Linked DNA regions of Homo sapiens: regions 2, 3, 4, 5, 6 and 7 are each linked to region 1. The links are contacts of gene promoters, found by promoter capture Hi-C in blood cells and fetal thymus (Javierre and others, 2016). All regions are on one chromosome and are shown on one strand. The core of a region is centred on a gene start or on the middle of the fragment in contact, and the rest is flanking DNA. Distances in the headings are between cores, read along the strand shown. Region 1 holds the start of LINC02610 (long intergenic non-protein coding RNA 2610). Region 2 overlaps LOC124908001 (a long non-coding RNA gene). Region 3 overlaps RAMP1 (receptor activity modifying protein 1). Region 4 holds the start of LOC124908001 (a long non-coding RNA gene). Region 5 overlaps LRRFIP1 (LRR binding FLII interacting protein 1). Region 6 overlaps RAMP1 (receptor activity modifying protein 1). Region 7 overlaps RBM44 (RNA binding motif protein 44).

What was found. Contacts are between HindIII fragments. The CHiCAGO score rates a contact against its expected background, and 5 or more counts as called.
Region 2: a fragment that was not itself captured here is called in contact with the fragment with the promoter of LINC02610 in region 1 in 2 of 17 cell types (total B cells and neutrophils); the score reaches 5.5 in total B cells.
Region 3: a fragment that was not itself captured here is called in contact with the fragment with the promoter of LINC02610 in region 1 in 4 of 17 cell types (activated CD4 T cells, naive CD4 T cells, erythroblasts and 1 more); the score reaches 6.9 in activated CD4 T cells.
Region 4: a contact is called between a fragment that was not itself captured here and the fragment with the promoter of LINC02610 in region 1, in 1 of 17 cell types (activated CD4 T cells). The highest score is 6.0, in activated CD4 T cells.
Region 5: a fragment that was not itself captured here is called in contact with the fragment with the promoter of LINC02610 in region 1 in 3 of 17 cell types (total CD8 T cells, megakaryocytes and total CD4 T cells); the score reaches 5.9 in total CD8 T cells.
Region 6: a fragment that was not itself captured here is called in contact with the fragment with the promoter of LINC02610 in region 1 in 1 of 17 cell types (total CD4 T cells); the score reaches 5.0 in total CD4 T cells.
Region 7: a fragment that was not itself captured here is called in contact with the fragment with the promoter of LINC02610 in region 1 in 1 of 17 cell types (activated CD4 T cells); the score reaches 5.1 in activated CD4 T cells.

The regions. Positions count from the first base shown.
Region 1 is chr2:238,230,127-238,233,405 of GRCh38, reverse strand. LINC02610 (long intergenic non-protein coding RNA 2610) reads left to right here and starts at 1,729. Exons shown (of 3, transcript NR_026926.1): 1 at 1,729-2,072. It also overlaps the pseudogene TARDBPP3. The HindIII fragment of the contact is 6,584 bases long and covers 1,260-3,279 here.
Region 2 is chr2:237,959,781-237,963,479 of GRCh38, reverse strand. It overlaps LOC124908001 (a long non-coding RNA gene), which reads right to left. Exons shown (of 2, transcript XR_007088146.1): 2 at 1,569-1,713. Among named protein-coding and RNA genes, the nearest start is that of UBE2F-SCLY, 5.3 kb to the left of the region's middle. The HindIII fragment of the contact is 2,129 bases long and covers 694-2,822 here.
Region 3 is chr2:237,881,323-237,885,048 of GRCh38, reverse strand. All of the region lies in intron 2 of RAMP1 (receptor activity modifying protein 1), which reads right to left. Among named protein-coding and RNA genes, the nearest start is that of RAMP1, 24 kb to the right of the region's middle. RefSeq lists an enhancer at 1,915-2,416. The HindIII fragment of the contact is 1,063 bases long and covers 1,798-2,860 here.
Region 4 is chr2:237,941,984-237,945,484 of GRCh38, reverse strand. LOC124908001 (a long non-coding RNA gene) reads right to left here and starts at 23. Exons shown (of 2, transcript XR_007088146.1): 1 at 1-23. The HindIII fragment of the contact is 2,884 bases long and covers 687-3,501 here.
Region 5 is chr2:237,777,539-237,780,903 of GRCh38, reverse strand. It overlaps LRRFIP1 (LRR binding FLII interacting protein 1), which reads right to left. Exons shown (of 24, transcript NM_001137550.2): 24 at 1-1,482. The coding sequence ends at 1,372. Among named protein-coding and RNA genes, the nearest start is that of RBM44, 20 kb to the left of the region's middle. The HindIII fragment of the contact is 1,833 bases long and covers 782-2,614 here.
Region 6 is chr2:237,908,041-237,911,753 of GRCh38, reverse strand. RAMP1 (receptor activity modifying protein 1) reads right to left here. Exons shown (of 3, transcript NM_005855.4): 3 at 1-226. Among named protein-coding and RNA genes, the nearest start is that of RAMP1, 50 kb to the right of the region's middle. The HindIII fragment of the contact is 4,100 bases long and covers 332-3,713 here.
Region 7 is chr2:237,826,475-237,830,063 of GRCh38, reverse strand. RBM44 (RNA binding motif protein 44) reads right to left here. Exons shown (of 16, transcript NM_001080504.3): 11 at 2,735-2,814; 12 at 2,561-2,631; 13 at 562-847. Among named protein-coding and RNA genes, the nearest start is that of RBM44, 29 kb to the right of the region's middle. The HindIII fragment of the contact is 8,322 bases long and covers 1-3,589 here.

The sequences.
Region 1 (3,279 bases), core at 480-2,979:
TGATCTTCTAAAAGGAGATTTTCTTAAGGAAAAAAATCCATATGGTGGGGTTCAAATTAAAACAAGGAATAAAGAATGTAGTTCTAATTCATGGCTTCCATTTTGAACATGCAAAGAACTCACTTGACAAGTCCAGGGATAAAATATTACAGGAGAAACCTTCTGATATCAATTGTAGTGTGTTGGTTTACCAATCAGGCAAACAGCAGTTCACTTTCAACCACTCAATATTTCAACCTTTCATGTAACAAAACTTATAAAATTCCTTTAGCTGTTCCTTTTTCTAAAGAAAAATGTCAAAAATACTACTGAATATACTCCACACTGAAGAAACCAATTTTGAAAATTCTTAGTACATATGTATTTTACAATATACTTACCATGAGTTTAGAAAAATTTGAATTCCAACCATTCTATACCAACCAACCACAACCCCACTGTCTACGTTCCCAGCCAGAAGACTTAGAATCCATGCTTGAGCCAAAGCCGCCATTAAAACCACTGCCCGACCCTGCATTGGATGCTGATCCCCAACCAATTGTTGCACCAAAATTAGAACCACTACAAGAGTTATTTCCAGAACCGAAGGCCTGGTTTGGCTCCCTCTGCATGTTGCCTTGGCTTTGGTTATCATCCGATGGGCCTGGCTGCTTCGCTGGCTGGCTAACACACCCATCGTACACCAACTGCTCTGCAGCACTGCCTGGGGGGCAGCCATCATGGCTGGATTAATGCTGAACGCACCAAAGTTTATCCCACCACCCATATTACTACCTTGATTGTTTCCCAAACCAGCTCCACCCCCTCTACTCTTACCAAATCCACCCTGATTCCCAAAGCCACCTGGATTACCACCAAATCTTCCACTTCTTGCTGTCTATTGCTATTGCGCTTGGGTTCGGCATTGGATATGTGAACGCTGATTCCTTTCATCGAGTCCTCTCCACAAAGAGACCGCGCAATCTGATCATCTGCAAATGGAACAAAGGCAAAGGCCCTGAACGGCTTGGGGACGAAGACATCCATCACATCCCCATACTGAGAGAAGAACTCCCACAGCTCATCCTCAGTCATGTCCTCCGTACGGCGCCCCACAAACACTTTTCTGCTTCTCAAAGGCTCATCTTGGCTTTGCCGCACCATAAGAACGTCTCCAAAGGTACTACAGTACTCTTTCAGGTCCTGTTCAGTTGTTTTCCATGGGAGACCCAACACTATTAAATCGGACTGGTCTTTTCACTTTCACTGCTGATGAAGCTTCTGTCTCACCCATTTTTCTTTTGTTATCTTTCGGATAGTTGACAACATACACCGGATTTCTCCAGCCAGCATCGGGGGCATGCAGAATTCCTTCTACCAGCCGGACACCTCTCATACATTGAGACACCGGATTCCTGCAGCGAAGCCCACACGCCCCTGGAAACTGGGCTGTAACCGTGGACAGCAGCACCGTCCCATCGTCTTCCGATGGTATTTCAATGGGCTCATCGTTCTCATCTTCGGTTACCCGAATATATTCAGACATCTTTTACTTTTCCACTAGGCCGCTGCTGGGAAGCCCGACAGGGACACCGAGGCAGCGACGGACCCAAGCGCCAGTGTTTTTTTGTTTGTTTGTTTTTTGTTTTTTTAAAGAGGCCACCACAAGTTGAGGCGGGACTACAACTCCCAGAGGCCGCCGCGGCCCGGAGGCCACGCCCCTTGGCGGCGAGCTCTGAGCCCTTTGCCGCATTTGACACTCGACATCCTCGTGCTTCTTAAAGCACTTGCCCAACGGTGAGCAACGGCCTCCAACGGTGCCCGAGGGACTCGCGCTGCCCGTTAAGCAGCTTTGCGGTGGCGGAGGCTGGGCTGCCGTCTCTCCGACATCCCGGGACGGAGGAAGAGATGAAGGCTCTGCAGCCCCCGCCGCCCGATTTACGCTTGAGAAAGCGAAGGCGAGAGAGGTCGTCCAGCCCCTGGGGGCCCAGCCCTAGAGAGCGGGGCGCGGGCTGCGGGGCCCGGCGGCCTGGACGGCGGAGCGTTGAAAGCTCCCCCAGGGATAGGAAGTGCAGCCGAAATCAACGATTGAGGTCAGTGAAGGAGCGGACGCTTGAGGCCTTGGAGGGGAAGCAGGTTTCTCCAGGAGGGAACCCGGGCCTCCGCTTTGCTCAGCGCTCCCCTCGCGAATGTGTTGAGCACCTGTTATGTGCTGGGGGTACAGAGGTGAGACTCACAAGGCCCCTGCATTGTCTTTAAGATCAGCAAGACCCCGCAGAGAACCCAAATCCAACGCGCACTGCCCAGAGGCAGACACTGGCATTCCTTGATAGACGGTAGCCAGGGAAGCCCAGGTCTTACTAGATTATTATCAGTACTTGGATTTGAATGTATCTGAGAGGAGGAGGGTTAAGGTTTAAGCTGTGGCTCAGAAGCCCCTCAGCTCTTCGTGGAATCTCCCAGGCTTTTCACTCTTGCATCCTCATGGAAAAATACTGCCCTCCCTGGGAAACCATGCTTTCTGTGCACACCTGCTCTGTTCCCATGTCGCTGTACTACCTATTGACCTGTCAATGGATGATGACACTTGGGGTACTATCCTCTCTCCTCCAGATCTTGCCCCACCTTAACCTTGAAAGAATATTAAATGCGCCCTTAGACGTCAGGAACCATCCCTCAAACCTTGCCATTCCTCTCTGTTGAACCTGCTCCAAATCTTAAGTGCCAACCTCCATCTTATCCACTTTATCCTGGGGAACTTGTCCTCACACCCCGTTGAGGTTTCTTACTTATTGTCCTACTGTTTTCTTCACACTCCAGTTTCTTAAAAACAGTCTTCATTCTCATTTTCTTCATTTCCTCATCACCTGTTTGTCCCTAACAAAATTTCAGTATGGCTACATTTCCTGCCATTCTACTATAGAAAACTTCTGCCAGAGTCTCCAATGAACTCCTGATTGCCGAGTAGACTCTTCAGTTTTCTCACCCGAACTTTGCGGCATTTGATACTCAACATCCTCATGCTTCTTAAAACATTGTTCTTGCCAGAGCACGGTGGCTCACACCTGTAATCCCGGCACTTTGGGAGGCTGAGTTAGGCAGATCGCTTGAGCCCAGGAGTTCAAGACCAGCCTGGGCAACATAGCAAGACTCCATCTCTACCAAAAATGCAAAAAATTAGCCAGACATGGTGGCCCGCACCTGTAGTCCCAGCCACTCGAGAGGCTGAGGTGGGAGTATCACTGGAGCCCGGGAAGTCAAGGCTGCGGTGAATTGAGATCACGCCAGTGTGCTCTGGCC
Region 2 (3,699 bases), core at 509-3,008, 270 kb after region 1:
GTTGCAGTGAACCAAGATTGCTCCATTGCAATCCAGCCTGGGTGACAGAGCAAGACTCTGTCACAAAAAAAAAAAAAAAAAAACTCAAAGAAATATATTTTGGGGTGAAATATTTCTCTTTCTTTCAGGGCCCACCGTCATGTGATGCTATACTAGAGTCAGTTGGAATTTGGCATCTTATTAGTACAAACAGCCTGTTTTGTCAGTCTTATGATCTCTGTTTTAATGTTAATGCTGGTGAGCTGTGCTTGAATGCCAAAGTGAGGAGGGTATAATGCAGCATGTCTGACCCCTCCTTCCCATCATGGCCTGAACTAATTTTTTAGGTTTCTTCAGAATCCCCTTGTTCAAGAGGAGGGGTCCATTCTGTCGATTAGGGGGCTTAGAATTTTATTTTTGGTTTACATGTCCAACATGGCTGTGAGGAATAGAGAAGTTCTTCAAAGTTTCTTAAAACCATAAAGAGCTTGTCATTTCTTTGCTTTATGCATATCTATATATGTTCCAGTGCAGCTGCTCTGACTTGACCTGGCATGCCTGGACAGGGTTAAGGCAGCCCGGGACCATAGTGCCTGCCATAGCTTATTTGGAAACCCTCCTGACCCTCTCATGACTAGCTTCCTCTTTCCTTTGTCCTCTTTCCTCTTTACCTATTTAGAAAAGTTTCAAGCTGTTAGCCAATCAGGTCAAGCTTAGAATGTGAGGTCCCATTCTGGCCAATGGAAATGGGACACAGCCATAGGACGATTGCATCAGGTTACAAAGATTATAAATGTCCCCATCTCCTTTGTTCAGGTGTGCTCTCATGGCAAGACTGCTAGCGAGCGGCACCCTTTCTGCAGAAACTAAACTAGCCTTGCTGAGAGATCCTTTGTCTCAGTGTTGATTTTGCCACACCGAACTCCCATTTCCAACAATGGCAGAGCTAGGATTTAAAGCCAGGCAGTCTGACTCTGAGATTTGCCCTCAGCCAGCACACCTTGAGGCAGCTGATACAAAGAACTTGAGGTAAGCTCTGGGAAGCTGGAGATGGTGCCATGAGTGTATTGCCTGCAGGCCTGTCACCTGAGTCCTGGCCTCTGTGGGCTGGCCTTGCCCTACCAGGTGCCTCCAGGGAGCTAGGGCCTGGGCTCAGACATCTCCACAATCCAGGACATAAAGGGGGCTGGTGCCCCTAACTGTAACTTTCATGTTCTCTGGGAGGGACTGGCTCTGCTTCAGTCACAGAACCACTGTGTGTGTGTGTGGGAGTGGGGTGGAAGTTCAACTGTGAGCCTCACAGAGGAGTGTTGTTGCCCAAGGAAGGGCAGGGGGAGACAATGTCCTCGCATCCCTTCCTCCCTCACCCCTGTAAGTTCAACCCCAGAGGCTTCCAGCTAGGATGTGGAAGGGGAGATGGCCTGGGCTATCTATATTTTCAGCCTGGTCCAGGGCTGGCAGCACTCTGGCCTGGGCTGGTGCAGGGACCTGGGAACCTGTGGGGTGAGGGAAGGGTCTCCCAGGCAGGAAAAGTGGCCTCTGCCAGCATCTTATTCTGCTTAGGCTGCCATAAAATACCACAGACTGGGTGGCTTACACAACAGATGTTTATTTTCTCACAGTCTGGAGGCTGGGTAGTTCAAGATCAAGGTCTGGCAAGGTAGGGTTCGTTCTGAGGCCTCCTCTTGCTTGTAAGCAGCCGCCATCTGGCTGTGCTCACACGGCCTCTGTGTGCTGGGGCAGAGAGAGAGAGAGTGGGCACGCAAGCATGAGAGCTCTCTGTTGTCTCCTTATAAGGATTCGAATCCTGCCAGGTCAGGGCCCCAGGTTAGGGCCTCATTTAACCTTAATTGCTTTCATAGAGGCCCCATCTCCAAATACAGCACACTGTGGGTTAGGGCATCAACATATGAATTTTGGAGAAACAAACATTGTGTCCCTTGCTTCCAGGAAAGCCCTGGAGGGGCATCCACTGCATTTAGCCGTCCACTCCACTCTTCCCTCCTGCCCTCACTGTGGGTGGGGCACACTCCATTCATTCCCCACTGGGGTAGGCATTCCTGGCTCCGGGCTTCAGTGGAAGATTGGCCTCCAGAGGTACGATCTGCAGTCTGGGTGAGCTGGCATCACCAAGCCCAGTGGGTCCAGTGCTCATGCCCCTTCCTCCAGACACAGTGTCCTTACCCCAGGCAAGACCTTAGCCATGTTCCAGGTGCAAGCCCTTGTTGTGTGAATTGGGAAACAGCCCAGGGGATGCTGAACTCCCGTGGGAGTAGACATGGGAGAAAGGGTGCAACACAGCCCTTGGCCAGCCCTTGCTCCACTTGTTTTGTGTTGTTCTAGATTACTCCCAGGTGTGCATCTGCCCTCCGGCTTCATCTGGTGTTCCTGGGGAGCAAGGCCCAGGACACTCAAGTGCAGGCCTGGACACATACAGGCCCCATGTCCCTGTGGAGCCTTCTCAAATCTACTTCAATCCAAATCAGGCACTATATAATAAGTACCTGTCAAGGGCTGAGTGTCGTTGGGGACAGACCCTGCCCTCCAAAAGCCTCAGCTAATGGGAGAAACTAGCATTTAGTAAACCACCACAGAATAGGGGCAGGGATACAACTGTGGCCGCTAAGGTTTGTTCCAGACAGGGGGGAACAAAGCCTCCACTGACCCACATGAGTTTAGGGATCACTGGGGAAAGGAGGGAGAGAGAACTGTGCTGACGGTAAGCCTTGCCTTAGAATTCAACTGAGGAAGCTGAAAATAAATGCCAAAAATCCCATGTCCCACTAGCTCATTCTCTTGCTAAAAGGGGAGACAGGTAAATGGTGTTTCTGTTAGGAAAAGCTTTATTGGGCCTTTTGGGGCCTGGGGTCTAACCTGGAGAGGAGGACAAAGATGAGACTACAAAGCAGCCGGAGGTGGTGTGGAGTGCTGTGAGGCTGTCTGAGGGGCAGAAGCTGAGAGGTGACACCCAAGTCCCAGTTCTGGGGTCCTCCGTGGCATGAGGGAGGGATGAACTTCCCATAGCTGGGGCAGATGGGGGCTCAGATTATCATCGTTATTATTATTTAGTAAGGGGTCATCCAGGAAGCAGACAATTGAAAATTCTAAGTAGTATAATTTTAATTACATAACTGGTATAATTAAGTTTTGCTTTTGCAACTGGCCTCCAGGGAATACAGCTTGTTTCTTTTTATTTCTTAAAAAAAAATAATACAGTGGGCTGTGATGGCTTTGTTGGAGAGGGACTGAGTCAGAGTGGTGTTTTAAATCTGATGATAGGATTGAGATCGTCATCATTCACCTACAGCAACAATGGGCTCCTTTTAATAAGGTCTGTGCATGGGGACTGGAATAGGGACATGGTAGTCCTGTGGTTCTTCCTCCTTCCTGGCTGCCCATCAAGTGACCCCAGAACTGGCAAAGCCCTACAGGACCATCAAATGTGAGAGAAGCCACCTTCCTCTGGGGGCTTTTTGGTTTTACTTTCTTGCAGAAATGGATTTAAGTTGTCTGCCTTTGTCACACTGTCTCCCATTTTGTATTGCATGTTCTTTTGGATTAGTCACTAACCAAGGTTAGTTCAAGTTTTCAGGGGTTTTATTTTATTTATTTTTGAGACGAAATATTGCTCTGTTACCCAGCCTGGAGTGCAATGGCACAATCTCAACTCACTGCAACCTCCGCCTCCTGGGTTCAACCGACTGTCCCACCTCAGCCTCC
Region 3 (3,726 bases), core at 1,080-3,579, 350 kb after region 1:
GCCCAACGTCGTGTGGACCCAGAGCGTCATGCCTGGCGCTGGCCATGCTGAGCCGCCGTACCACAGCAGGCACTGCAGACATTTGTCTTGCGTCCCCCAACTACCACGCTGGGCTGCAGCCCCACTCCCTGGGGCCTGGAGCCCCGTCCTCTGAGCAGCTCCTTGGGCTGGGGGAGGGCCCATGATTGCCCAGCATGGGGTCGGCAGGGCAGGGCAGGGTCCGCAGTGACAGCCTCGGGTAACCAAAGCTGAGGTGACCTGAGGCTACCATGGTCAGTATTTACAAACCTGGAAGCTTTAGGGCAGAGGGACGGAGGCATCCCAGCTGGTATGGAAGTGAAGTCTGGTTCTCTGGGGCCCAGTGACCTCAGATGCTGGGAAGGCTGTGGCCCCATCCTCTGGCATCTTCCCCGAGGACACCTTTCCCCTGCCCAAGATGGCACTCAGACCCTGAAGCCATACAGGGTGGGGTGGAATAGGCGTGTCCCCTTCCCTCTTAAATCAACCGAGCATTTCTTATTTAGGTGAGGAAATCTGACGTGAGGCTTTTAAAAACCCATGTTTTATAGCCGAGTCCAGCACGTTCCAGATTCTTCTCTTCTCTGTTCTGCCTTCTCTCTCCCTCCCCTACACCCATAGGAAGGTCTCTGGAAATGAGAGTTCCCGATGACACATTTGCCAGGTTTTCTATACCTCCTCAAATTAGATTGTAGCTCCAGTTAATACATTAAATCACATTATGCCTCCATCAGCAAACCAAGGCTGCAGCTTAATGAGATGATAACCCCTGGTAAATGACGGCCCAGCCAGCTTGCAGGGGAGCCTGGCCCCGCTGAGCTCATTCAGCCACTTTTCAGGGACCTGTTCCATGTAGCTGAGTGGAAGACACCCAACACGTGTTAGAAAGGGCTCAGGAATCACCCCCAAGCCTTGCTCACAACAGACAACCTGACAAAATCCACCAACCAGGTAACAAAGCAACAGGATGAGCGGAGGAGTGGGGTCACGGTCAGGGCAAGGGCTGTCGGAACCCAGCAAGCACCTGCGTGCAGATCCATGCCGGGCAGCCAAGGTCCCAGGGCAAGCGCAGTGGCTACAAACCCTGAATGCGCAAAAAAAAAAAAAAAAAAAAAAAAGTGGACCTACAGGCCAGGGCAGGGACCCAGGAATGACCCCTGTGCAGAGGAGGAGCCTCTTTTTTTTTTTTCTTTTCTTTTCTTTTTTTTTTTTTTGAGGTAGGGTCTGGTTCTATCACCCAGGCTGGAGTGCAAGTGGTACCATCATGGCTCACTGCAGCCTTGACCTCTCAGGCTTGAGTGATCCTCCCGCCTCAGCCTCCCAAGCACCTGGGTCTACAGGTGTCCAACACCATGTACAGCTAATTTTTAAAATTTTTGTAGAGATGGAGTCTCACTTTGTTGTCCAGGCTGTTCTCACACTCCTGGGCTTAAGTAATTCTTCTGCCTTGGCCTCCCAAAGTGTTGGGATTACAGGCGAAAGCCACTGCACCAGGCCATGAGGAGTCTTCCATTCACTTTTTACTTCTATTCAACGTCCTGAGTAAAGCAGGGATCACGGGGGGCCTCCTTCCCATCTGCTTTGATAGAGGAAGCAAGACTTCTGGGCCGGCACTAGGAGCTGGCACGAGCATGTCTCAGCCCCCACTTACTCCTGTGTGTGTATCCCATAAAAGGCTGGCCGGCCGCCTTTGTCTACGTCGCTCATAGGAAGGTGAGTCCCCTTTGACACGCAGCTGTTGTTAAATGAGACCTCTGATTTCAGAAGAGTCTGGAAGCTTCCCTCTGCCATATACCAAGATACCTGCAGGCCCAGCCCAGGGCCCTGGGACAGCTATGACCTTGGGCGGCAGCAGGCATGTGGCAGCTCTGGCCCAGAGGCTCCTGCCTTCAGAATCCCCTGGCCTCCATGCCAGCCTGGTTTTGGATACCAGACCCCAATAATTGCCTGGTTCTGCTTGCTTGGCTTCTGCCCCAGCTGCCAAGCCTCAACTGCACTTGGCTCAGAGACGGGCCTTTCCCAGAGCCTGTGTCCCCCATCAGGTCACCTGCCTGGCTCACAGTCCTTGAGACCAGCTGGGACCCTGCTTGGGCTGGGAGCATTCCCTGAGGCCAGCCACCTGGCTGTCTGGCTGCCTGCCGGTCAGCCTCACTTTGGGGTCCCGCTCATCCAACAGACACAGTGCCACCTGCCCACACCTGGTGATGGCCTGCCTGCAGGCAGCCTAGCGCCTCTCACCCTATTTGTGCCTTCGTGTTCTCTCCAGGGCCCTCTTCCCCTCCACTAGTTACTTGGACAAACTTGCCCACCCTAGAACCCCAGGCCCTCGCTGCTACTGGAGACCCTTGGAAGGCTGCCCTTGGCCCACTGCCAGGCTTGGTGTCTCAATGCGATGGACCTCACCAGGTTGGTAGGGACATCGCCAGGACGGAGGCAGCACCTGAAGGCTTGCATCCCCATCTCAGGAGGCCACAGTTATATGGAGGCAGGGCATCCCTCCACCTCCGCCGGGAACCAGGAGGGAGCCATGGGTACCAGCTGTGCGAGCCTGGGCAGGTGAAGCAGCAATCACAACAGCCCCACCTCCGCCAGGCTGCTGCTGACCTCAAAAAGCCAATGTACGTTACGTGCTCGACACAAAGCCCAGCACGCGGTAATAAACGCCAGCTACAGTAAACGCGTTTCTTGGACTAAGTTAAGGGATAATTAGGTAAACATTCAGCAGGCGGTGAGGACCCATTGATAGTTCTGGAGAATAGATCAATATGAGATTCAGGTGAGATGAGGAAGGTTTGGGAAAGGGACGATTTAAGAAGGCACGGGCCAAGTGCACAGGGAAGCTTAGTGCATGACAAAGGTGGCATCTCAGGTCACGGGGAGCAGAGATGGACGTTTGCATAAATGGGACAAGTGGGTAGCGCATCCAGAAAAAGATAACATTTGATTCATAGTTCACACCATACACAAGAATAAACTGGAATAAACTCCGATGGGCCAAGGATTTCGATGGAACCAGTGGGACCACACAGGCTAGAGGAAAACGTGGCAAATCCCTCTTTTCCCTTCATGTGGGGAGGGGCTTTCCACTAGGACTCCAATCCAGAGGCGATCAAAGATGGATGGTTTTGACCACATTAAAAAAATTGTGTGGCAACAAAAACACCAAAAGAAAAAAAAAACAAAGTTGAAAGACAACCAACAAACTAGGAGAAAATCTCTAATGTACACGAGAGACAAAGGCCTAACCCATCTAACATACAAAGAACTCTTTAAAAACGACCTGATAGAAAATAGGAAAAGACACAATTTGCCAAAAAGATAAAAGAACGGCCTGTAAACATACGAAAGATGTTCGGATTCACTCCTAAGTACAGAAATGCAAACTCACATGCTGCTGAGACATCACTTCTCACTTATCAGACAGTAACAACTCTAATGGACGACAACACAGTCTGTTGGTGGGTCTGGGGAAACGGGCACCCCATACGCTGCTGGTGGGAATGCAAACTGGCATCAGCCTTCTGGAGGGACGTTGCAAAACCTAACACATTCCTCCTGCTCTCACCTTTGGTCCTGCGACCCCACTTCTGGGTATCTATTCTGAAGAGTCAGCTCCAGTGCTGGGAAAACACGGATGCGTGAGGCCATCCACGTCGATGCTGAAATGGGAAAATACTGGCCACAACCTAAGTGCCTCTGCTCGCTTGG
Region 4 (3,501 bases), core at 879-3,378, 290 kb after region 1:
AGCTTCTCTTCATCCACCGCTTGGCTTAATTGAGGTGGTGGTGGGAGGCCACAAAGGCTGCCCAGCCCCTCGGAACCACTGTCATGTCTTTGGTTCAACCTTCCTTCATCCACGTTGCTCTAGCCAAGAGTCTTTGGTAGCAACAAACAGAGACCCATGCAAGCTTTCTTCCACTAAAACCGGGCAGTCCAGGCAGCAAACTTCAGATTCCAGAAGGCTTCAGGAATGGAAACTTCTCTCTTCTTTGGAGGCCTGCGTCGCTCCACAGCCCTGCCTCTGTCTATTGCTGTCTTACTCTCCATTGTCTCTCAAGCTGCCTCAGGATCCTTAGGTTGTTGCTTTTGCAGTTGGAAACCTCTGTGGCTGGTGGTGCCTTTGCCTGAGTTTTTGCTCAGGCCCACTTGGCTCATTCTGCCCACTTGGCCTGGCAGGCTGCACTCAGCTCGTGCTACTGGCCGGGATCTTACACCTGACAAGGGTGAGCCAGTAGCAAAGTGGAGTGAGTGTGGGGTCCAGCCACTGTGCACAGCCAGGTGAACTGGCTGCTGCTATGGGACAGGCAGCTCCAGGCACTGGCACAGGCACCAACTCTGTGCAAGGCTGCATCTGGATAAGATGTACTGCAGGCGGCTTCCTCTGTGGTTACCTATGTCTGGACGAGGGGAGCATGGTGGTGCCTGGAAGCTTGGCAATACCAGGAACCACAGAGCTCCAAAGAAGGTGTCACAGCCCTGGCTCAGGGACCCCCTATGTCTGGGCTTCCTGAAGGGCCACAGGTCTTCTCTCCTTCTTGTTGCCCACAACACGGTGAGTGGGGGGTTGGGGGGCATGTTTCAGCCCTGTTTGTGTTACAGCTCTTTCAGTCACACCATGTGGTGAGTTCTTGTCCCATGTCCAGGAAGAATGAGGTACGTTGGCAACTGGAGAGTGAGAAAGATGGAGAGGAATTTTAATGAGTGACAGAACAGCTCTCAGGAGACCCAGAGTGGGTAGTTTGTTTCCACAGGGAGGTAGTTCTGATGAATGCAGCCCTCAGCAGAGAGGAGATCCGGAGTGGGTAGCTCCTTTCTGAAGGCAGGGCATCCTGATGAGTGTCCAGCTCTCAATGGAGATGAGACCCAGGGTGGGTAGCTCCTGTCCACAGGCAGGTTGTCCCGACAAGTTGAGGAGACCCAAAGTAGGTCGTCCCTTCCTTCCTGCAGCTGGTAGTCCTGATGTCTGTGGGAGTCTGGGGTTTTTATGGGCTTAGAAGGGAGGAAGTGTGTGCTGACCGTGGGCAGCCATAGGTGGGCCTGGAAAAAGTACCATAAGTTCTCACTCCAGGCTGTGGACTCCATCTGTAACTGACAGCCCAGCCCCTAGGCTTCAGGCTGTCCCTGGCTTGAATGTGGGGCTTCACTGGGGACCCTCCTCTTCCCACTCAGGAGCCTGTCTGCCTCCTGCTGCCATCAATGTGCCATCCACGGCACCCAAGCTGTTCATGTTGAGGGGCACCTGCAGGCCCTCACTGAGCTGCCCTCAGCACCCCTTTGGCTTCCCTCCCATGCTGGTTGACACCCAAAGTCCAGAGGGGGCAAGGTTCCAGGGGGCTGGCATGTCAGCAGCATCCCAAAATCAGGCACTCAGCCAGGTCATGACAGTGCCCAGGATGGGCCACAGCTTTGCTCTACCATAGAGTGGGCACTGGGAGCAGTGGGAAGCCAGGCAGCAGGAGCAGACACTTTCAAGCCTGCAGGGGTAAGGGGCTTCCTGGGCCCCCAAGAGTGCACGGATGCCTGGGTCTGGAGCTGAGGCTGAGTGGCTGCAGCTGCGCCTGGGAGCATGGGGCTTCTGTCCTGCCGACTCAGTAGGGGCCGGGGCTCCCGCCTGTTCTGTGGAGCATGCCGCCCTGACCACACCTCCCCCACTGCAGCTGGCATTTTCACAGTGGCCTCTCCAGATGGGCCATTGCTGCCATCAAAGCCAATGATGTCTACTTGCTCCCTGTCCACATGACTGGTGTTTGCTGTGTCTCTAGAAAAAAAATGTGTCAGCCAAGAGGAGGCTTAATACCCTATGCCAGGCCCTGTGCTATGATTGGCCACTATGTTGATTTAAAAAGACAAGGTATTAAATGTACCTCCCCTTAAATAACGCCATGGGACTGGCAGTTTATGTACTTAACAGGAGCTGGGCAGGACAGATGAAAATGGAAGAGGGGAACATATATTCAGGGTAACTTGACTATATGTCTCCTGGGTTGCAGTCCTCAAATTTGGCCCAAATAAACTCTCTAATTATACTTAAGAAAGACAGAGAGAGAGAGAAAAGAAAATCACAGAAGACAAGAATGAGCTGCATACAAACTTCTTGGTTCAGAGGGGCTTCATTACCCACCATTACAAAATTAGATAGGAAACCAAAAGTCAGCTGAAAATAACCTCTGAAGAACAATCTACTTATAGCCAGGTGTGGTGGCTCATGCCTACAATGCCAGCACTTTGGGAGGCCGAGGCAGGAGGATCACTTGAGCTCAGGCGTTCGAGACCAGCCTGGGCAATATAGTGAGACACCCCCGTTTCTAATATAATAAAAGGAAAAAAATTAATATGGCAAGTGATGTTAGTGAAAATACAATAAGGAACCCTGAAATTATTGTGCATTCTAAGAAGCAACAAAACATTGGCCCAAACTGCTGGAGTTAATTTCTTGGAACTCTGGAAATTAAACAAAGACTTGTAAGAAGTCAGGAAGCACTTGATAAGAGGAAGAGCTGAAGGAAGGGCTGGAGTCTCTGTAAGAGCAGCAGGCTTTGTGGCAGTTAACTTACTCTATTCCCCTCCCTGGCTCCCCAGCAAAGCAGGAAACTTGAAAATGAGAGGCCAGTTTAGGTGCAGTGGCTCACGCCTGTAATCCCAGCACTTTGGAAGTTCGACATGGGTGGATCATCTGAGGTCAGGAGTTTGAGACCATCCTGGCCAACGTGGTGAAATCCCGTCTCTACTAAAAATACAAAAGTTAGCCTGATGGCGTGTGCCTGTAATCCCAGCTAATCAGGAGGCTGAGGCACAAGAATTGCTTGAACCTGGGAGGTGGAGGTTGCAGTGAGCTATCACGCCACCGCACTCCAGCCTGGGTGACAGAGTGAGACTCCATCTCAAAAAAAAAGAGAGAGACCAAATATACAGACAATGGCCAGGCCATATACACAAACAGAACTCTCACCCACAACCGGTAACAACAAGCCCAGGAAGGAAGCCAAACCCTTATCTGCACATAACAACTCAGGAAGCCAGCATGCTACAAGTCAGACTTGTTGGAGGTCCAATTGCTCTCTCTAGAAACAATCCACAAAGTAAAAACAATTACTTCTGTGACAATTGGCCCCACGCAGCCAGTTGACTGGTTAATAACTAGACACTTTCCTAATTTTTGTCCCTGCTTCCAGCTGAGGACCAACCAGAGAAAGTCAATTTGCTCCCCTAAGCAATCATATAGAAGCCCCATTTCTAGCGAGCCCTC
Region 5 (3,365 bases), core at 449-2,948, 450 kb after region 1:
CAATGGGCAGTGGCAAATATCCTCTGCACAAGGAGATACAAAAATCTTGTGTATTTTAATAGAGATTTCATCTCTTTCTTAATGCAACGCAGCTGTGTATATCCTAGATCCATACAGTTCTGGGGGATGGACACTGGTGACCCCTAGCATTATGCTGGGAGTGTTTTCTTGATTATATACCCTGAACTCACAACCCTCACTCCAGCATTCTCCATGTGTTAAGACTAGATATGGTTTTGGATGATACTGACTCAGTTTCCACTTGCTAACGTCCCGAAAAGCTGACTGGCTTCACCAGCCATACTTGAAATACAACATATATGAACAGTCACTAAAAATCAGCAGGTAGCTAAACGTTTTTACTTTTGTCCTTGATGATATTGCCATCGTCTCTACTGTTACCTCCTCCTTCACTTCACTTTTTAAGTGCACTCATTCTGTGAAAACACCTTTTTTTTTAAATAGGGAAAGAAAAATGAATTGACTTGATATTCTTAAAAAATAAAAAGATGACCCAAAATATACAGAACCATTAATATGAAATTAAAGATCTTCTTTCTCAGTGGAAAAAAATTAGAACCACATTGCTGAAGTCTCTCAACATTTCATTTTTAATTTTTCTAATAGTACATTCTTTAAAAGAAGTTAACGACTTCAATTCCAAATATAAGGATTAAATAATGCAATGAAAAGCTGTCATTTTCAGTGAAGCTATTGCCTAATTACCCTGGAAAAAAGTATTCTTATGACTGAACTGATGCAAAAATCCCTTAGAAAAGCTTCATTTGTTGCCTGTAAAGAGTCTTCTTAAGGTCACTTTTACTTCTAGACTGCCCCCTTGTTTCCAGTGAAAGAGTTTTGCTTGGTAATGGCTTGTGGTTCCACAGTGTTTTGTGTATGAAAAGCGTAGACTAAGAGATACTACTGAAGTCGCTCAAATTGTAGATTCTGCCATGAAAGGAAGTCCCAACACTGTAACATTTCCCCTTAATCTTCAGCAAGACACATGAAAAAAAAAAAAAACTCAAGTCCCAACTGAATCTTTACTTTGATCATCACTTCCAGCGGCATTCAGAGGCTGCTGTGCGGTCAGACACAGAGCTCCCTCGAGGCCCCTGTGTGCTTATGAAGTACCTGCAGGTTCTGAGCGTCGGCGCCAGCCCGGGCCAGGGGTCTGCAGACAGAGGCACCTGGTGGCTGCTGGGGCTCCCTGGGGTGAGCCATGGCACGGGAGCCCCTAAGCGCCAAGCTCGCCACGGTCTTCGTCTCTCGGAAGGCAGGGGAAGAAGCAGCGCTCCCAGATAGGACAGAGAAAAGCCTATGAAACAATGCTCTCCAGTCACCAACCAGTTGCCTGATCAGAGCTGGAATTTACTGCTGGGACAAGAGTGCACTCCGATTTGCTTTCATTTTTTCCAGACGCTTCACTAAGTGGCCGTTGCTCACCTCGAGCTCTTCTGTTTTATCCAATGCAGAGCGGAGCTGGGAACGGAGGAAAGGCAGTGAGCTTTAAGGAACTTGTTTCCTCCAAACATAACAGGGTTCTGTGTTACCGAAATTCCAATCCTACTGAAAAATAAAATGATAACTTGGCCCCTGGTCCCTCATGATGCCCTTCCTCCTCTGAAACAACTGGACTCCAGAGAGGGAACACCCTTGGGGATCCTGATGGTTTTCTTTTTTTTTTCTTGAGATGGAATCTCGCTCAGTCGCCCAGGCTGGAGTGCAGTGGCGTGATCTCGGCTCACTGCAAGCTCCGCCTCACGGGTTCAAGCGATTCCCCTGCCTCAGCCTCCCGGGACTACAGGTGTGCGCCACCACCCTCAGTTAATTTTTTGTATTTTAGTAGAGACGGGGTTTTGCCATGTTGGCCAGGATGGTCTCGATCTCCTGACCTCGTGATCTGTCCGCCTTGGCCTCCCAAAGTGCTGGGATTACAGGCATGAGCCACCACGCTCGGCCTCTTTTTTTGTTTGTTTTTTTTTTTGAGACAAAGTCTCGCTCTGTCACCCAGGCCAGAGTATAACGGTGTGATCTTGGCTCACTGCAACCTCCGCCTTCTGGGTTCAAACAATTCTCTTGTCTCAGCCTCCTGAGTAGCTGAGACTACAGGTGCACACCACCACACCTGGCTAATTTTTTGTATTTTATTAGAGATGGGGTTTCACCATGTTGGTCAGGCTGGTCTTGAACTCCTGACCTCAGGTGATCTACCCACCTCGGCCTCCCAAAGTGCTGGGATTACAGGCGTGAGCCACACGCCCAGTGGGGATCCTGATGGTTTCACAAAAGGTAAGTGAGGCATGAGGTAAACAAACACAAACAACAAGAGCTGAGCCTGGACTGCATGGCGAAGGTGGTCCCCACAGCCCTGGCAGCCAGAGTCCAAGGCAGGAATGCCTGAGGCCAAGACGGCCACACCTGGGAGCCAGGGCCATGGAGCCTGAGAGTCAGGCAGAAGACGAGCTGCAGAAGCCACATTAGCAGGGCATCATCTGGACCCACAGGCAGCAGGGCAGAGTGGGGTGCCCTAAGCTGGGAGAACGTGGTTTTGGAGGGGTGACAAGAACAGGGTCTATGGCTCTGCTTTCGACCCAAAACACTCAAGGAAGCTTGTTTGGGTCCTGGGACAGAAGTCCCGACCCCACCTCACTAGCAGAGGCAGAAGCAAGCCCTTTTTGCAGGAAGTTTCCACAAGTTAAGCCTGGAGTTATTCCTACAAATTAAAATCAAGCATAAGCTCACAAAACACTAAGGTGACAAACCATTTGAGTGAGAGTCAACAGAAGCAATAAATGACAGAATTAGACCCCCAAAGACTGAGCATGTTTCAGTTGTCAGATACAGAAAACCAAACAGCTGTGTATGAAATATTTAAAGAATAAGAATACAATTTAAAAAGAGGACATACATGAACATGCAGCAAGAAACTATCAACAATGAAGACACTTTTTAAAAAAAATGGTGAACTGGAAAATCTTTGCAAAAACTTTAGGCATTATCCAATAGAGAGAGGTAAGGAGATAGAAAACATGAAAGAGAGATGGTTAAAAAATGTGGAGACAATGAGAATCTCTAACATCCTCTGATTAGAGTTCCAGAGGGGAAAGTGGAGAGACTAAAAAAGAGGAATTATTTAAGGAGTTAATGGTTGAATATTTTCCAAAATCAATTTTTAAAAAGACTTCACAGATCCAAGAAACACTATATATCTCAAGCAGAAAGATTCCAATAAACTACATCTAACAGTAAAACTGTAGAAAATCAAAGACAAACAGAACCTGAAAGAAACTAGAGAAGAAAAAAAAAGGTCCCTACAAAGGACCGACCGTTAAAACAACAACTTTCTCAACAGCTCAATGGAA
Region 6 (3,713 bases), core at 1,132-3,631, 320 kb after region 1:
CCAGACCACCAGTGCCGTCACCAGCAGGGTCACCGTGATGGGGACCACGATGAAGGGGTAGAGGATGCTGCCGGGCGGGTCCCGCACGGCCCTGCCTGAGATGGGGCAGCTCCTGAAGTAGCGGCCATGCACTGCCAGGAAGAACCTGTCCACCTCTGCATTGGGCCAGAAGCAGCCCAGCTTCTCCGCCATGTGCCAGGTGCAGTCGGCCAGCTCCCTGTAGCTCCTGCGGATGGAAGAGGAGGTGGTAAGACCCTGGGCAGGCGGGGGATCCAACGCGGGACCCCAGCCCGGGCTGCTGCACCGTGGCCCCTCATGCAGCCCTGAAGCTTGGCTCGGAGAAGCCCCGACGCCGAGGCAGTGGCCCTGGATCCAGGAGGGCAGGGGCCCGATGGCTCCAAGGGGACTCCAAGGCGACCTGCATGGCGGCCCGTGGTGCAGGAAGCCCTGGCGTGGCCGTGGGGCCCCTCGCAGCTCTGTCTGCACCAGGAGGACAAGCCAGGCTGGGTGGCCAAATAAGGCCCGAACCTCTGCCACCAGCTCCTCTGCCACCAGCTCCTTCTGCCACCCTGGGCAAGGTCGCAGGCTGGTGTCGCGTCTGTGTGTGACTGTTATTCTGTATGTGACTGTAACTGTTATTCTTTGTGTGTGACTGTGTGTGACTATGTGTAACTGTTATTCTGTGTGCGACTGTGTGTGACTGTTATTCAATGTGTGACAGTGTTATTCTCTGTGTGACCGTGTGTGTGACTATTTTCTGTGTGACTGTGTATGTGACTATTATTCACTGTGTGTGACTCTGTGTGTGTGACTGTTATTCTGTGTGTGACTCTGTGTGGATGACTGTGTTATTCTGTGTGTGTGACTGTGTGTGACTGTTATTCTCTGTGTGTGGCTGTAACTGTGTTATTCTGCATGTGACTGTGTGACTATTATTCTCTTTGTGACTGTGTGTGACATTGTGTGACTGTTATTTTGTGTGTGACTGTGTGTGTGACTATTTTCTGTGTGACTGTGTGTTACTGTTATTCTCTGTGTGTGACTATGTGACTGTGTAACTGTTATCTGTGAGTGGCTGTTATTCCCTGTGTGTGACTGTGTGTGTATAGCTGTGTTATTCTGTGTGACTGTTATTCTGTGTGTGACTGTGTGACTGTGTTATTCTGTGTGACTGTGTAACTGTTATTCTGTGTGTGTGACTGTTATTCTGTGTGTTACTGTGTGTGTGACTATGTATATGTAATTGTGTTATTCTGTGTGTGACTGTGTGTGGGTGTGACTGTTATTCTCTGTGTGTGACTGTTATTCTCTGAGTGTGTGACATTCTATGTGTGACTGTGCAACACTGTGTTACTCTGTGTGTGTGTGTGACTGTGTTATTCTCTGTGTGTGATTGTGTGTGTGTGTGACTGTGTTATTCTCTGTATGTGTGTCCCTGTGTGTGAGCGTAACTTGTTATTGTCTGTGGGTGTGTGACTGTGTTATTCTGTGTGTGTCCCTGTGTGTGGGTGTAACTGTTATTCTGTGTGTGTCCCTGTGTGTGGGTGTAACTGTGTTATTCTGTGTGTGTGAACCTGTGTGTGCACGTGTGACTGTGTTATTCTGTGTGTGTGACCGGGTACGTGTGACCCCATATGGACTTCACCACAGGGCCTCTGACCCTATCCTGCCACGGCTGCAGGTGCCTTTACCCACAGGTATGGCTGCCACCAGGCTAGAAGGAAGGGAGTGGAGGTGGCCGTGCCGAGCCAGGGGCCTGGGCGGCACGGGCAGAGGGTGTGCCATTGGGGTGTTCCTTGGGCTTGGCTTGGAGAGAAGCCATCGCGGAGTCCCCTCTGCTCCAGGAATTTTAACCCTCGAAGCCACAGCGGGTGAGCTCATTCCCACCCTGCCCCTTAGGTGCTCTCAGGACTCTGCTCCCCAGGGCTCTCTGGGGAGAGCAAACGCCATCTGTTTCTGAACAACTTTCTCCATAGATGTGGGTTTGTAGGCCACAGGATGCCCTTTGAAATGAAGTGGACAAAACCCAAGTGGACCCAGCCATCGGTGCTTTTCTGTGTCATCTTCCAACCCAGGACGTGGGTGTCAAGTGCCTCTTGCAGCAGAGGAAACTGAGGCTCTGAGACATCACTGGCCGTGGGTAGAGCCCAGACCACGCCGGCTCCTTCTGCCTCCAGCCCTGCATTCCCTCCAACCCCCTGTGACCTCCTGCTTCACAGAACAGCCCTGAGACTCAGGAAGAAAGGCCCCTCTGGCGTTTCATGGGGCTCAGAGCCTGTTCTTGGGGACTGATGGCCTGAAGGGGTCTTGGTGGCATTCACTGTTGTCACCATTCCATGATAACTGCTGCAATCATGAAGGTCCACTGGGTACCCCTGCATGACAGGCACAGGCTCGGCAAGGCCTGTGTGTGAGCTCGCTCATGCTCGGGGACCGCTGTTACCCATTGTTTTGTAGACAGGGAAATGGAGGTTTGGGAAGGCTGGAGGGCTGCCAGGTGAGAGGGCCAGGGTGTGACTGCACGGGTCTCACACCTCACCACTGTCCCTCGCCCTCGGTGGCCAGATCTGGCCACAGCTTGGACACTTCCTTGTCTGGGTCCAAGTTGCACTCACTGGGGGTTGAGGCCACAGTGGGCATCCGTAAGCCAGAGAGCCTTGAATGAGCCCTTGCCCCATGGGGGCAGCCTGAGTGCCTCTAGGGCAGGTGCTGAGTCCCCTTCACCCCCGTATCCATGATGCCAGTGTGATGCCAGGCTTGCTGTGGAAGTTGTGCCACCAGGGCTGCAGCCAGGGTAGGAACAGGCTCAAAGGCCTTTCCACCATCCCAGACTCTTCTCTCCTGGGAAGCAGATGCCTTAGGCTGCTGAGGGAGGAACAGCACAGCCTGTCACCCCCAGGGCACAGACAAAGACACACCATGGCTAGGGGAAGGATAGGAAGGAACTCTTTTTCCTTGGAAGGGCACCAGGAAACCATCCTGGCCTACGATCCTGCACCATAGAAAACAGAGGCCTTGGCTGGGTGTGGTGGCTTAACACCTGTAATCCCAGCACTTTGGGAGGCTGAGGCGGGTGGATCACAAGGTCAGGAGTTCAAGACCAGCCTGGCCAAGATGGTGAAACCCTATCTCTACTAAAAATACAAAAATTAGCCAGGCACAGTGGCGGGCACCTGTAATCCCAGCTACGAGGGAGTCTGAGGCAAGAGAATCGCTTGAACCCAGGAGGTGGAGGTTGCAGTGAGCCGAGATCATGCCGAGATCATGCCACTGCACTCTAGCCTGGGTGACAGAGCAAGACTCTGTCTCAAAAACACCACCACCACCACCACCACCACCACCAGAGGTCTCTTCTCACTGGGGAAGGGACAGGACAGTCACACCCAAGACCCCGACAGAGTTTGCCACAGGGAAGAGGGGTAGGAATGCTGGGGTGAAGGGCACAGGGAAGGGCCTGTCTAAACTGAGGCTGGACCAGTACACAGAGAACCCACCCCAAGCCTTGAACATAACCTTGGTAGAATAACAAGCAGCAGCTGTCTACTGCCGAGAGAAAGTGGGGTAAGATCCATGCTGCAGCACAGGCAGGCAAGAGAAAGCTGAAAGCAGAGGGTGGGGCACCACACTGAGGAATCTCCTCCAGTGCCCTAGTCCCAACCCTGGGCACAAGGCAATGACAGCTCATTGCTAGAGGTACTTGAGGCCTATGGTAC
Region 7 (3,589 bases), core at 39-2,538, 400 kb after region 1:
TATATGCATTTGTCTAAAGCTATAGGCACCAAAAAGTATTGAATTTTACTGTGCGTAATTTTTTTTTTAAAATCTGTGGAATGCCTATGGGACTCCAGGCAATTTGCTGAGCAGTGGAGAGAAAAGACTGAACAAGGCAAACTTTACCACTTTTCACAGGGTGTTTACCTCCATAAGAGAGACATGAGAATATATGAAAATACAATGACTACATTTTACGGTTTTAACAATTATGAGATAAAGTTAGCTATGAAAGAAAAATAAAGATGAAATTATAATTAGTTACTTATAGAGTAGTAATAAAAAGACGGCGAAAGACTGGCAAAGAGCCTAGTTAAAACGAGTTTTTCGTTAGCTTGGTCTACAAAGATCTAGATTTCCCCCCAGGAACAATTGGAGTTGTACAAAAGCAGGTTGAGGTGGATTCAAGGTTGAAAACAATTCAGATTAATGCTGTCATTCCCATTTCAAGACTGCATATTGAAGTTATTTATTCTACAAAGCTACTTACAGCAATATGACGTACAAAGACCATTTAAGGGATCTATCAAAAACACTAACCTGGTCGGAAGGGAAAACCTCACTGTCTTGCTCAGAACCCAGCTGCCGTGGCCTAGTTCTGGGCAATCTAGAAATGGAGAATTCTGAGTGGATTTGTTTGTTGGTGCTTTTCTCTAAATTATTCGAACTAATTCTATTCCCATTTTTGGAGGAAAGTGGTGATGTATATTCTCCAAGAATTTTAACAGGCCACACATTTACTGACTTTCCATTTATTTCTATCCCATTCATTTCTTTCACAGCTATCTTTGCATCGCTGTTTTTTGTAAAAGCAAGAGATGCATATCTAAAACATAAGAGCAGAAAACCAAAAGGTTGTTAATGACTTCAAATTACATCAAACTTAATTTTGCAACTACTGATGCAAATACGTTTTTCACAAGAGTAACTGCTTTTAAAAATAAAAAGGTTGCTGTACTTACCTTGGGATTAAGAAGAATATTTATTTAGGATAACTAAATAAAAACCAAGTTAAAGATGGGAAATAGAAGAAAAGTATTTCTTACACATTATCTCCTATTAATTTCATATTAAAATCTAATGTAAAATATTTGCGAAGCTAATATATGATAGAGTTGCAGAGATTAGTGGTCTGGGGACAACTGGTTATCCATAACTTAAAAACCTAAAACTAATCCCTATGTATAAACGTAAACTTCAGATAACTTAAAGGCTTAAATGTGAGAGGCAAAATTTTAAATATTTAGCAGAATATGCAAAAGTGTATCTTTATGACCTTGTAGTGGGGAAATATACAGACAAAAACAAAGAGTTGGAAAATCTAATCAGAATTTTAATTATATATACAAGAAAGTTGGGCAATAGCTATTCCTATAAAATCATCAGCCCTAGACAGCGTCAATGGAAGGATATATACCAAATCCCGGGAAGAGTGGCTGTTTTCAAATGATGGGACTATGGATACATTTTTATAAACTCCTTGTAGTTTTGCACTTAATTGTACTTTCTAAATTTCTACACAGAATGCAAAATACTTCAAGTAAGAAAAAAACATAGTTTTAAAAAAGTATTCAACAAGATACTAAAAGAGTTTTCACATCAAGTAATAATCCTAGGATTACAATACTACTTTAATGAAATGTATTAACATCATATCAACAGGTTAAATAATTACAGCTGAACAATTATCTTACAATTATATGACTTCATTTAAGACACACATTTTTAATAAATTGCAACCCCAACTACAAACAGGATCCTTTCTTAATTGATAAAAATTTTATATCTGAAATAAACAGCTATCACTTTTAATAATGAAACAGTAAAAAAATTTCCATTAAGCTATCGCCATTGTTATTTAATACTTTTGAATGATCTGGCAATGTCACAAAACAGAAAGTAGCAACATACATACTCAGACTGACTACATGTAAATGAGGTAGCTGTCTACCTAAAATATATAAAAAGTGTCAACTAAAAAGTAACTGAAATCAGAAACAGTGAAATGAAATACAATTTTCTGAGCACCTACTATGTGCCAGGCTTTATTCCTAGTGTTTCACATATTTTACTTCTAACAGTTTCACAGCAATGCTGTGAAGTTAGTATTATTATCCTCACTTTATAGACAAAGAGGCTGAGGTACAGAAAGGTTAAGTAACTTGCCTAAATTTATTAACCAAGTTGTTGACAGAGCTGGGAATTGAACCGATGTTATCTATTTCTGGAAGCCGTTCTTTTACCTAATGTGCTCTACTTCCCCTATGAAGTGGCATGTAGCAAGATAAAGTATACAAAAATCAATAACTCTCCTGTATACCATTAACAAGTTATAAAGTATAATGAAAAAAAAGATCTGGTTAAGAACAGTATCAACTCAAGATTGCAGCTATTTGTCCCTATGTCCCCTTCCCTGGCCTGTGAAACCCTGTGAGAATAACCCTTGACTTTATCACCACTGTGGCTGATATCTGGTATAGAACCTTTGGCAAACAGCAGACACATAATAATGCACATTGATTAAAGTTGGGAAACACACCTGTAATTAGTAGAATCATAAATTGAAATTTCAGAAACTTGGTATTTTTGGAAATGAGACCTTAAATCGGCCTAAAAGAAGAGAAATAAAAGTTTGTGAAAGGTAGAAAAAAACAACAAATATGAACAACTAATAAATTTGAAAATGAAGCTCAAAAAAATAATCCTGGTATACCTCAGATACTGAAGGGCAGAGGCCACCAACATGTATCAAATAACCTTTATCTCTTTGTGAGGGTTCAACATTCTTCATTTCTGCTTAGAGAAAAACATGTAACAGAAATGATCTTTATTGTACTGATATGTTTCAGAGAAAATGTGAACACTGTTAAATATTTTGTTTCCTTTCTACTAACCCAGAGTTTATTATAAAGTTATCAGCAACTATCAGCACTTCTAGACTGAGGACTAAGAGCCTGCAATATAGTTTTAAGATTTCTGGGCCTTAATCACATCATCTTAAAAACTAAAGAGGCTGGGTTAGTTAAGTCTCTTGTAGCTCAAAAATGAATAAATTACATCTAAACAAAGTAATCAATTACTGTAATTGTTGTCCCTCAGTATCCCTGGGGGACTGGTTCTAGGACACTCCAAGGATGCTCAAGTCCCTTATGTAAAATGGCACAGTATTTGCATATAACCTACACACATCCTTCTGTGTACTTTAAATCATCTCTAGATTAGTTATAATACCTAATACAATGTAAATACTTGTTATACTGTATTGTTTAGGGAATAATGAGCCTCCCAAAAAGTCTGTATATGTTTAGTACAGGCTTTTAAAAAATATTTTCAATCTGCAGTTGATTGTCTTTGTCTTTGGTTCAGAGAAGTGCTATCTAGAACAGTGGACACACACAGGATCTTAACTCCCTAGTGTTAATGCTGGCTAGAGCTAGTGGTCTGAGAGCTCTCATTATGCACATTCCGTTGCTGGGGAAACATCACACCAAGAAAACCTTTTAATTGGGCAATATAATAGCAGGTATTATAATATATAGCTTGCAATAACGGTAAGGGCACACAAAAA